Regions from separate parts of the Homo sapiens genome. Here region 2 is linked to region 1. Evidence: promoter capture Hi-C in 16 types of primary human blood cells and fetal thymus (Javierre and others, 2016). All regions are on one chromosome and are shown on one strand. The core of a region is centred on a gene start or on the middle of the fragment in contact, and the rest is flanking DNA. Distances in the headings are between cores, read along the strand shown.

What was found. Contacts are between HindIII fragments. The CHiCAGO score rates a contact against its expected background, and 5 or more counts as called.
Region 2: a contact is called between a fragment that was not itself captured here and the fragment with the promoter of TMEFF2 in region 1, in 1 of 17 cell types (M2 macrophages). The highest score is 5.4, in M2 macrophages.

Annotation. Positions count from the first base shown.
Region 1 is chr2:192,191,761-192,197,217 of GRCh38, forward strand. TMEFF2 (transmembrane protein with EGF like and two follistatin like domains 2) reads right to left here and starts at 3,173. Exons shown (of 10, transcript NM_016192.4): 1 at 2,593-3,173; 2 at 120-229. The coding sequence starts at 2,764. RefSeq lists an enhancer at 3,119-3,694. The HindIII fragment of the contact is 4,792 bases long and covers 2,248-5,457 here.
Region 2 is chr2:193,573,967-193,579,355 of GRCh38, forward strand. No RefSeq gene overlaps it. Among named protein-coding and RNA genes, the nearest start is that of LINC01821, 770 kb to the right of the region's middle. The HindIII fragment of the contact is 1,964 bases long and covers 1,271-3,234 here.

The DNA.
Region 1 (5,457 bases), core at 1,923-4,422:
GTGCCAGCTTCCCTCTTAGCTTGCATAGCTATAAATTTCCAAGTGATAGGCTGTAAAGGAAGATTCCTGCTTTGCAGTCTCATTAATGAATTAGAAGATGCAAATATAAGACTTCTTACCTTGAACTGACAGACGCAAGTCACAGTGTCTCCAATTCTTAAACATTCCCCATCAAATTTACAGGTGTTGGTGTCACAGAGGAAGAGATCATTTTCTCTGTCATCATAACCTCAAATTCAAAGAGAACACTCCAGTCATTAAAACATCTTACAGATTTTTAACAAAAAAAAGCACTACTTTGAAGCTTTAAAATACTTGTCCTAAATTTTAAATCCAACAACTATAGCTGTACTGCAAGGTCACTGTCTACTGATAACCTCAAAATCTAGTTAAGTGATCAATATTCGTTTCCATTTTCCACAATTCTTTTCTAGTCAATTCTCCTTTAGTATCCTTTTCTGATAGTGCTATTTTTTAAAGCTTGCGTTAATACTGACAGTGGTGAATGAAAGCTTAACATTTGCTTCCTGTTTTTTTTTTATTTTTATTTTTTGCTCATTAGGTGGACAATATTTATGACCACAAAACTCCACATTTTGGAAAAGAGCTAGTGATGATCTCTGAATACCCTTTTACCATTTCCCCATCTTTAATTGTTCTTTTGCTTCAACGACTGAAACAACCCCTTATTTGAAATGTATCCAGACAAAGAGGAAACAAAGCCTCAATAATAAAGATAAACAGGCACAGTGTTTTCTGTGATGGTCTGTTTGGCTCAAATGAAGATTGATCACCTCTAAGTTAACAGGGGTGGAAGCGGGGTGCCAAGTTCTTGACAACCTATCTGCAAAACCAGTTTATTCTCTTTAGTTTATGCAGTCCCCTTTAAAATATCTGGTAAATATGTAATTTCTTGATTGCAAATGTCAACTTCACATTTAAGTTAGTTATTTCCTAAAACAATGCAAGGGCTAGGAATGAAGCAAACCAGTCTGTGTTGGACTACAAAGCCATCAACATTTCCAAAAATTGTTTTTGCAGGCTCATAATTATTACCATAATAAAGCATCTAAAAAGTGATTAGGCAATAGCAAAGTGAAACTTATTCTTTCAAAAACAACACACATGTACGCATGAATCAAGAAGTTATAGAAACATGTTGAGTTTTATTAAAATGCCAAATTTAGAAACTGCCAAAAAAGAGAACAATCTATTGACCCAAATCTAATAGGGTTGCATATCTCAACTTGTCTTTGTAAAGGATAAATTAGAATGATGCATAATAATTTTCCTTTTGGCATTTACATCAGTAATAACTAGGAACTATACAGGCTTTCACCCTGAGTTACAGTTGGTCATTCCCTCCTCTCTAAAGTTACATACACTTCAGCTTATATACATCTTTGAAAGACACTTTATTCAGAGCCAGATTTAACTACAGCAAAATTATATTCACAGAAGATGAAAAATTACATACACACTTGCTAAAACTAGAACAGACCACACCTAGGGGACAATACCCAGGCATGTTAACGGAGTTTAAAATGCCAAGGAAATTACACCACAATTCTGCCCAGTATACTACAGGCTGTCAAACCGAAATGCTATGCCAGCTAGGAGTGCAGCAACTCCCATCCTCTGGCCCTATTTAATTAGGAAGCTTCAGCAGAGCGAAGCCTGCCAAGCGTTCGCCGTCAGAATCTGAAGGAACCCGAGCGAGCAAGAAGAGTGCCTGACCCACTCCACAGAAGCCTGTCCAGAAATGGAGGAGTCAGCGCCCACTGAAGTCGGTTCCGCCCTCGGCTCGCCTACATGGAGCCTGACCAGCCTCAGTCATGCCCACTCCGGCCTGGGAGACCCGCAAAGTGTTCTTTTTCTCAACTCCCCTGTACTACCTTGAAGCTTAGGGAAGCAAAGAGAGGGGCATATCTGGACTGCAAAACCAATGTCTTTTGCCGCCTAGGAGAGAAGGGAATGAGAGAGAGAGAGAGATAGATAGATAGAGAGAGAGAGAGAGAGAGAGAGAGAGAGAGAGAGAGAGAGAGAGAAATTCTATTGAAACCCAGCTCCTCTAGAATCTGTGTGACCTGGTCTTCAACGGGAGACCAGTGCGACCTCATGGCACCTTTGCCAGGAATCAGCGATTCCCCTGCAGTCACCATTTGATTTATTGCTTTCTCGCTCATTCTTTCTCATAAAGTTATTTCTTCCTCATCCTAGTAAGACTTTTTTCTTTAATGATGACAAAGCTTCTGTTTCAGTGTTTCCCCTAGGATTGGTGCTCTTTCAAAACAGTGAACCCAGAAAACCATCCCGTTTAATATTTCTCAAAATCCTCGCAGCTCCAATGTAAGCGCAAGCATGCAAAGGTTTCCTGCTACACCTGCACTTTCTGCCCATCCCAGAACCACCCCTCACCCCCGGGCCTGCAACAGTTCCCCTTGTTTCTCTGGATAGAGGTGGGTGGTATTAGGGGTCTAGGGCAGTAGGAGGTGAGGGGCTGAGGAGGCGCGCTAGGGTAGGCTGGTCTGTGCTGGATACGCGTGTTCTTCTGCGGAGTTAAAGGGTCGGGGACGGGGGTTCTGGACTTACCAGAGCAATTCCAGCCGGTGGGCGTTTGGCAGTCACTTAAGGAGGTAGGGAAAGCAGCGAGCTTCACCGGGCGGGCTACGATGAGTAGCATGACGGGCAGCAGCAGCAGCCAGCAAAAGCCCTCGCAAAGTGTCCAGCTGCTGCACTGCCGCGGGGACTCCCACAGCACCATGACTAGTTCGTGCAACTCTGCAGCAGCAAACGGCTTCCGAGGAACACAGGATCGCGGGGGCCGGGCAGCGGGCTACTGAGCATCCCGCGGACGGCGGCAGCAGAGGCGGCGGCGGTGGCAGTGGCACCCGGCGGGGAAGCAGCAGCCAAACCCGCGCATGATCTCGAGAGTTTCAGCAACATCCAGGGACTGGGCTCAGCCCCGGAGCGAGAGGGTCGTCCGCTGAGAAGCTGCGCCGGAGACGCGGGAAGCTGCTGCCATAAGGAGGGAGCTCTGGGAAGCCGGAGGACAGGAGGAGACGGGAGTCCAGGGGCAGACGAGTGGAGCCCGAGGAGGCAGGGTGGAGGGAGAGTCAAGGCGCCCCGCAGCCCGGCAGCCGCCTCTCGAGCTCTGCCGCCCGCATCCCTCTGGCGTTTGGGAAGCAGCAGGTCCTCAGCCCGCCCGGGGTCACGTGGGAAGAGGCAGTCGGGCTCTGATTGGTGGAGCAGGATGCAGGTCCCGGGAGGGAGGGGTCGACGAGGAGGTGCAAGGATGCAAGGAGGAGGCGGCCGCGGAAGCCACAGATGGGCTCGCTCGCCAGGCGCTGGCCCGAGTGGGGCTAGGCGGGGATGGCTCAAATGAGAAGCTCGGGCTTCAGGGTGGGCTACCCGCACACTCATATACCATTCGCCTCACTCTCCGCTCCAGGACGCCCCCTACCGAAGGCGGGGTCCGGACTAGCGCCCCTCTTCCGCGCGTGACCCCGGGCCGCGAGTGCGGGCCGCGGCTGGGTGGCGTCTCTCCGAGCTGGAGATGGTGGGGGCGGAGGTGTCAGAGGAGCAGCAGCAGCAGGGCAGAGAGGGGCGAGTCGGCGCGGGAGAGGGCGTCCTGCTGGCGACCGGCGCTCCAGCGTGCGGGAGCGCGCCGCCTAGGCTGTAGGGGGATGCAGGCTGGGAATGTCGCGGCGGAGAGGCCAGGGACGTTTCTCTAGGGATTTACAGGAAAGAGGGTGAGAGGCGATGGTGTTAGAACCGCTCTTGCCGACCTGGAAGCAACAGCAGCATCTCCCACAAGAGCGTGCAACCCCAAGGCTGCTCGCCGAGGCAGCTCAGCCATCCCGGCAGGCGCTCTCCTTCCTTCTCTCTTCTCCCCTCTCTCCTCCCAGGCCCCCCGCAGCTCCGACCCAGCCCAAGCGTTCGCAGGTTTGAATCCCTCTCCTCATCACCCGCTCCTCTCCAGCCCGTAGCCTATTAGTGTGTCCACCTGGGAGGTGCGGTCAGATGTGTTTGGAAGGTCAGATTGGTCGGGACAAGTGGTCTGAGAGAAAGAGAAAGGCTCCTCTGCATACGCCGCGGGTGGGTTGCCGGGAGCATCGGCCGGGCAGCGGCGTCCGGGAAGGGGAGAGCGGGCTCCATTTGTTGGCCCAGGCAGTGACCCTGCGTTCCTTACTCGGGTCTTTGCCGGATGGCCGGTGACCTGGGGCGACGAGAGAAGGTCTAACTCGGCAGGAGTCTCTGGCTCTGCGCGTTTCTTTCATTCTCTCCAGCGGGAAGGGCAAACGGCATAGCGGGACCCGCCTTCCGTCTGCTGCATTCTTCAGGCAGTTAGACACACTCTTTAGCCTAATGGAATTTTAGTCGCCAGTAACGGGACCAAGAGCTTTCGGGGACAAGGGTGGAGAGGAACATCTTTCTTCCATGACCGGGGTCACTATTGCAGTCTCAGTGTTTTGGATGCCCCATAGGGAAGAGCTTTCTTTTTGGTGTGTGATTATTCAGTGATTCCTGTTTTTGTTTTTGTTTATCTTCTCTCCGCTCTCCTTCTCTATTCCTCTCTGTTATCCCTCCTCCTTCTTCTCCCCCCGCTTTCAAAAGCCTCCGGATCCTCCCTTTTTCTATTTAAATTCTCCTTTTGTGCCCCTCTTTCTGTGTCCCCTGAATTTAGGAGAGCATTTGATAACATTTAACAGGCAATTAGTGTCCATTCCCAATCACTTAAAAGAGGCATTCATATACTTTGAAAACGGGACTATCTATCCTTTGCAGACACCAGCAGAAAAACAAATTGTACCCGAGTAATCCTTTTAAGTACTTTAACCTCCAACCTCCTCCCACTTCCTTGCTTTTTAACTTCTCCTTTGAGAGATGTGATCGTGCAGCACCTCAGTGCCTCAACGAAATCTTTTTTTTTTTCCTGTGTGAAATCCATCCCTTTATCTTACATCTCCGCCTCCGTCCGAGACTGTCCCTCTCCCCTCCCACCTCCAAAGATTTCTGAATCTCAGTGTCTCTCACTCCTGGCAATTAAGCAGCAGATCCCAGCATTCTAGTCGGTGGCATCTCGCTCCTCACCGACGAAGACTCCATTAAAACAGATCAATTAGACCAGACGTTGGAGGCATCAGAAAATCGGCTTCTAGACAGAGCAGCTAAATTCTTTAAGGAAACAGAATACCCATTAGATAGAGCTGCCAACTAATATTGCAAAACAAGGAATTAGAAATTTCTTTCGCTACAGGCTTTCAGCAGAGAAGGCAACATAAATATAGATCAAGATTTAACAACTCTACAGCAGAGAATGAGAACATGTCATTTTCCATAGCAAGGCTGGTGTGGTAACTAATCAGGCTTATGAAAATAAGTCATGCTTGAAACTAAAGGCAAAGTCCTTAAAAGTGTTTATGCAGTAATTATGATAATGAAACAGGACCTGCT
Region 2 (5,389 bases), core at 1,003-3,502, 1.4 Mb after region 1:
TTTAAATATAGTTTTTTTAAAAAACTCCCTCAAGTTTATAATGAAGAATGAATGAGATAATACATGCAATGATGCCTTCAACCATTGTAAAGTACATACATTTTTTATTTTTTAATGATATTTGAAAATGAGCCTTATAGAGCCACAAGGGAGGGAGATATTAAATGTAACTTCATAATTATTTTATTATAGTTGTAATATGTGTCTCAAAGTAAAATGATATACTGTTGTAGCAGTTTATAAATAGGGTACTTGGTTTAGCTGAGGGAATTTATTGTTAAGTAGTTAATATAAACACAGAATTTTGCTACAATTATAGTTAAAATAACTGGCAGTATAATTCAGTTTTTCTTCTTGATTCTCCTTACAGCATAAAGAGAATACAGGCATGTTTTCATGTTTCTCAAGATTTCTGGTGTAAAACTTTCCAAAACATCTTTATTGACAAAAATACAATCTTTTTAAGATAATATTCACATATAAAAATACCGTGGAGTAAAAGAGATTGTTTAATTTTGAGCTCCAATACTCTGATAAACCTCAATTTCTACCATATATTTAGTTATTAACCTCAATTTCTACCATATATTTAGTCATTTTACTTATTTTACCATGAGTTTTTATTATACAAATAATGGAAAAATGTGCATTTGTTTGCTTATTTGTGATATAGAAAAAAGTCTGATGTATAGTCGCATTTCCAGACTTCATTAAAAATTCAAGCTTCTCATTTCCCTCAGCATAGGCTGCTTCTCATACAGAAGTCTGTAGTAGGGTGAAGAAGCATGATCACTTTTCTTCTGCACACCAGTGTTGCTTTTCTTCTAGGCCTCAGCTCACTCCTAGTACTTCAGCCTCATTTTCTTTTTCTCCCATGGTTGAAGTGTGGAGGAACAGAAAGGAGATAAATCAGGAAATGATTTATTTTATTGACATTAATATGTTTCTGCTTTTTTAATAGACAATGAAGATGTTTGGAGCTCAATTCTACTAGGGTTGAATTCGTGAGGTTTTTGGAGACTCTCCCTTAACATAGATAATTCGTCTGTAGATTTCTTAACACTTCTATTCTCCATCTGGGGTCTTAGCTCTTTGTTCTCAATTTCTGGTTTGCAACAATAGACCCAACACAGATGTTCTCTTCTGGTGCTTCATCAGCTAACTGTCTTAGACAAAGTCCCTTTAAAATAGCTCCAGGTAAATTCTCTTTGCTACATAGATCTAAAGGGAATATATTCTGACATTATTTGCCCAGAAATCTCTGAAGTGAAGCTTGTTTCCTAGATAGCCATCTCCCCTCAGTCAATCAGATGGTTAGCCAATCATCTTCGCAGGCTTTCAGGCTTCTCAGCCATGAGTATGGAACCAGCCATTGTGCTCCCTTTCCCCTAAGATGTCAAAGAAAACAGTCCAAGATCCCTTTATGATCTTCTGAACCTTTTCTTACTGTGTTAAAAACAAGATTGAAGCATCATCCTCTATTATGACTGCTATGAAAAGGGTCAGACTCACACTGTACTAGCAATGTCTTCCAAAAAAAATCCTCCCCATCTGATTTTTCAAAACTACTGCCTTTATACACTCAAAGGAGATAACCTAAATAATTGACAATTAATTTTTCACCACCTCTTTTCTCATCCCTTCCCAAGTCATCTGACAACTCATAGATGTTGGGGATCATAACATGAGACATCTGATATTGAGTCAGTAACAATCCCATTTGGTGTCCTAGTACAAAAATACAAAAAATCATAAGCAAAATGACAAGAGTACCATAGACAATGCTGACAAAGTCTTTAAATCATTTGCAATACTTTCTTAAATTAGCTCATTATTAATTTCCTGCCAGGAAATCATTGCCCTAAACAATGTATGTAATTCTGATATATGTCATTATTAACTCTATTTTGCTGACAGCTGAATGAATGGGTGATTTTTTTTCTTATTTTAGGACATAGGGAACTGTTTTAAACATTTATTTTGAAATAAAATGCACTGTATAATTATGTATAAAATGCATCATTCATTTCAGAATTAGTTTATCTTTTCAAGAGTTTTCTTGGGCTGCACAATTGATCATACATTTTTCATACTATTTTAGATTTGTACATTTTTGAATTTTGGTATAATTTAGTTCCAACTGTGTTAGAAAATGAATACCAAATACTATCTGGAGGCAAACTGAGGGGAAAAGTGCTTTATCTGATAAACTGAAATGTTAGGTCATTAATCATATACTTCCTCATCATATATTTTATCCCCAAGACAGATTATTTGCATTCAAGTCATACAAGGAGGCTTATAAGTCACAGCCGTATCTAAAGTGAGAAACCTGGGGATATTTAATATTCTTTAAGTCTTCATTCTAACCTCCTAGTTTTCTTTTATACATTCAAGAGGCTATAAAATTAGAAACAAACAAATAAACAAAATAACACTTTCTCAACTCCTTTGAAGCTAAGATTCTTCAGGTAGATGTACTCACATAAAACTTGCAGGCAGAAGAAAGAAATATGATCAAACGGGTTGGTGAAGAAGTTTTGGTCTTTTGGCTCTTTCTCTTCTGAAACCTCTGATAGATATTTTATACAGAATTATACAGTACATTATATTTCAAAATGAATGTTTTAAATGGATCTCTGTGTCCTGAAATAAGAAAAAAATTTCCATTCATTTAGCTGTCAGTGAAATAAAGTTAATAATGACTTATATACCATAATGACTTATCAGAGGTGACTACTTCCAGGTGGTTGCAAAACAAGTTTTATAACAATGGCACCAGTGTTTCTTCTGGCCATTTTCTGCCACACATAATCCAAGTCTTATTCTCTTGTCTATATATTTTAGTAAATTATTATTTTCTTAAACTAGCAAGAATGTATTCTATGTTGTCCAGCTAAGATAGCAGGGAGCAATGAAGACATTAGAGGCCTAGTACGATACAAATAAAGAAGTGATGGTTTCTGACTTGAATGGGCTTGAGGACTGTGCAATTCTAGTTAGAAGTTGAGAAGATTTGGTAAAGATTTTTTTTTTTTTTTATGTCGCCAAAGAAGATGGGTGGAAAGTTGTAAACCTTCTCTAGACATACAGGATACTATTATTTGACAGTTTAAGGGCCATAGGAAATTCAAGACTATGGAAAGGGCTGATTCCTTCTAATTAGGAAAGATGATAAAATGAAAATTTAAAGATTTGAAAAGACCAATGCAAGGCTTTGTCAGAGAATCAAGAAGCTTCTTTTATTTTTTTAAGTGCCATATATATATATTGCAGCAGCTCTGATTAATGAAAATTGGGTTTAAAATTTACATCCTTGCCAAGAGAAATATATAACTTTCTTTAGAAGAATGTGGAAACCTTGAGAGAATTTGGGTGACTCTAAGTAATGAGAACTTAATCCCACTAAAACTTCCTTGCCAGCAGAAGTAGTACATTTTTTCACCTCTTGATATATTGAGGGTGTTTCTTCCTTTTATAAAAGCACAGAAGAGCTTCAGCAAAAACAGTACTAAGAGGGAAGTTTATAGTAATAAATGTCTACATTTAAGAAAGATCTGAAATAAACAACTATAAGAAACTAAAAAAAGAACAAGTTACAAGCAAAATTAACAAAAGGAAGGAAATAATAAAGACCAGAACAGAAATAAACAAAATGGAGAATACAAAAACAATAGGAAAAAACCCCAGTAAAACAAAGAGTTGGTTCTCTGAAAGATGTGATTGAAAACCCCTTAACCAGTGGGAGAAAAAAAAAGAGAGAAGGCTGAAATAAAAGCAGAAACATAAGAGTAGTCATAATAAAGATGCCACAGGAATAAAAAGATAAGAAACTACCATGAAAATTACTTATTAGCAAATGGGACAACCTAGAATAAATGAACAAATTCCTAGAACCATAAAACCTGTCAAGCGTGAATCAAGAAGAAATAGAAAGCCTGAACAGACGAATAATAATAAAAAAAAAAGTCAGTAATTCAAAACCTCTCAAAAAAGAATAGCCCAGGGCAAGATGACTTCACAGGTGAATTCTAAAAAATACTGAAAGTATAATTAATGCCAAACCTTTGTATACTCTTCCCTCAAATAGAAGAAGATGGAATATATCCAAACTCATTTTATTAGGCAAGCATCACCCTAATAACAACACAAAGCAAAGACGACACAACAAAATAAAAGTACAGGCAAATACTCCTGATGAATATAGATGCAAAAATCCTCAACAAAATATTAGCAAACTGAATCCAATAGCACAATAAAAAGACCATACATCATGGCCAAGTAGGATTTACCCCTCCAACGCAAGGGCTGTTTAATATACACAAATCAATTAATAACTACACTACATTAACAGAAAGAAGGATTAAAATCACACAATCGTCTCAACAGAGAGAAAAAATGTTAGAAAAAATTTAAGACAATGTTGTGATTAAAAACTTTCAATAAATTAGGTATAGAAAAAACTTACAACACAATAAAGGTCATATATGAAATGCCCACAGTTCACATTATAGGCAATGGTGAAAAATTAAAAACTTTTTCTGTAAGACCTGGAATTAGGCAAGGTTGTTTATGCTTGCTACTTCTATTTAACATGGCACTAAAAGTCCTAGCCAAAGAAATTAGGCAAGAAAAAGAAATAAAAGGCATTCAAATTACAAAGGGAGATGTAAAATTATCTATATTCATAAATGACATAATATTACATGTAGAAAACCCTAAAGTGCCACCTCACATTGTTAAAACTAATGAATTTAGTAAAATGTAGGCTACACAATCAGTTGTATTTCTATACACTAACAAGAAACTGTCTGGAAAAGAAATCAAGACAATAATCCCATTTACAATAGCATCAAAAAGAAGAAAATACTCAGGAATAAAGTTAACCAATGGGGAGAAAGGCTTGTACACTGAATACCATAAAACAAAGAAAGAGTTTAAAGCAGACACATGTAAATGAAAAGATATCTTGTGTTCATTGGTTAGAAAAATTAAAATTGTGGGGGCCGGGCGCGGTGGCTCACGCCTGTAATCCCAGCACTTTGGGAGGCTGAGGCGGGTGGATCACCTGAGGTCAGGAGTTTGAGACTAGCCTCAACATGGAGAAACCCCGTCTCTACTAAAAATACAAAATTAGCCGGGCGTAGTGGTGGATGCCTGTAATCTCAGCTACTCGGGAGGCTGAGGCAGGAGAATTGCTTGAACCTGTAAGGCAGAGGTTGCGGTGAGCCGAGATTGCGCCATTGCACTCCAGCCTGGGCAACAAGAAAGAAACTCCGTCTCAAAAAAAAAAAAAAAAGAAAGAAAGAAAAGAGAAAATAAAAAGAAAAAAGAAAAATTAAAATTGTGACAGTGCCTTTAATACCGAAAGCAATCTACAGATTCATTG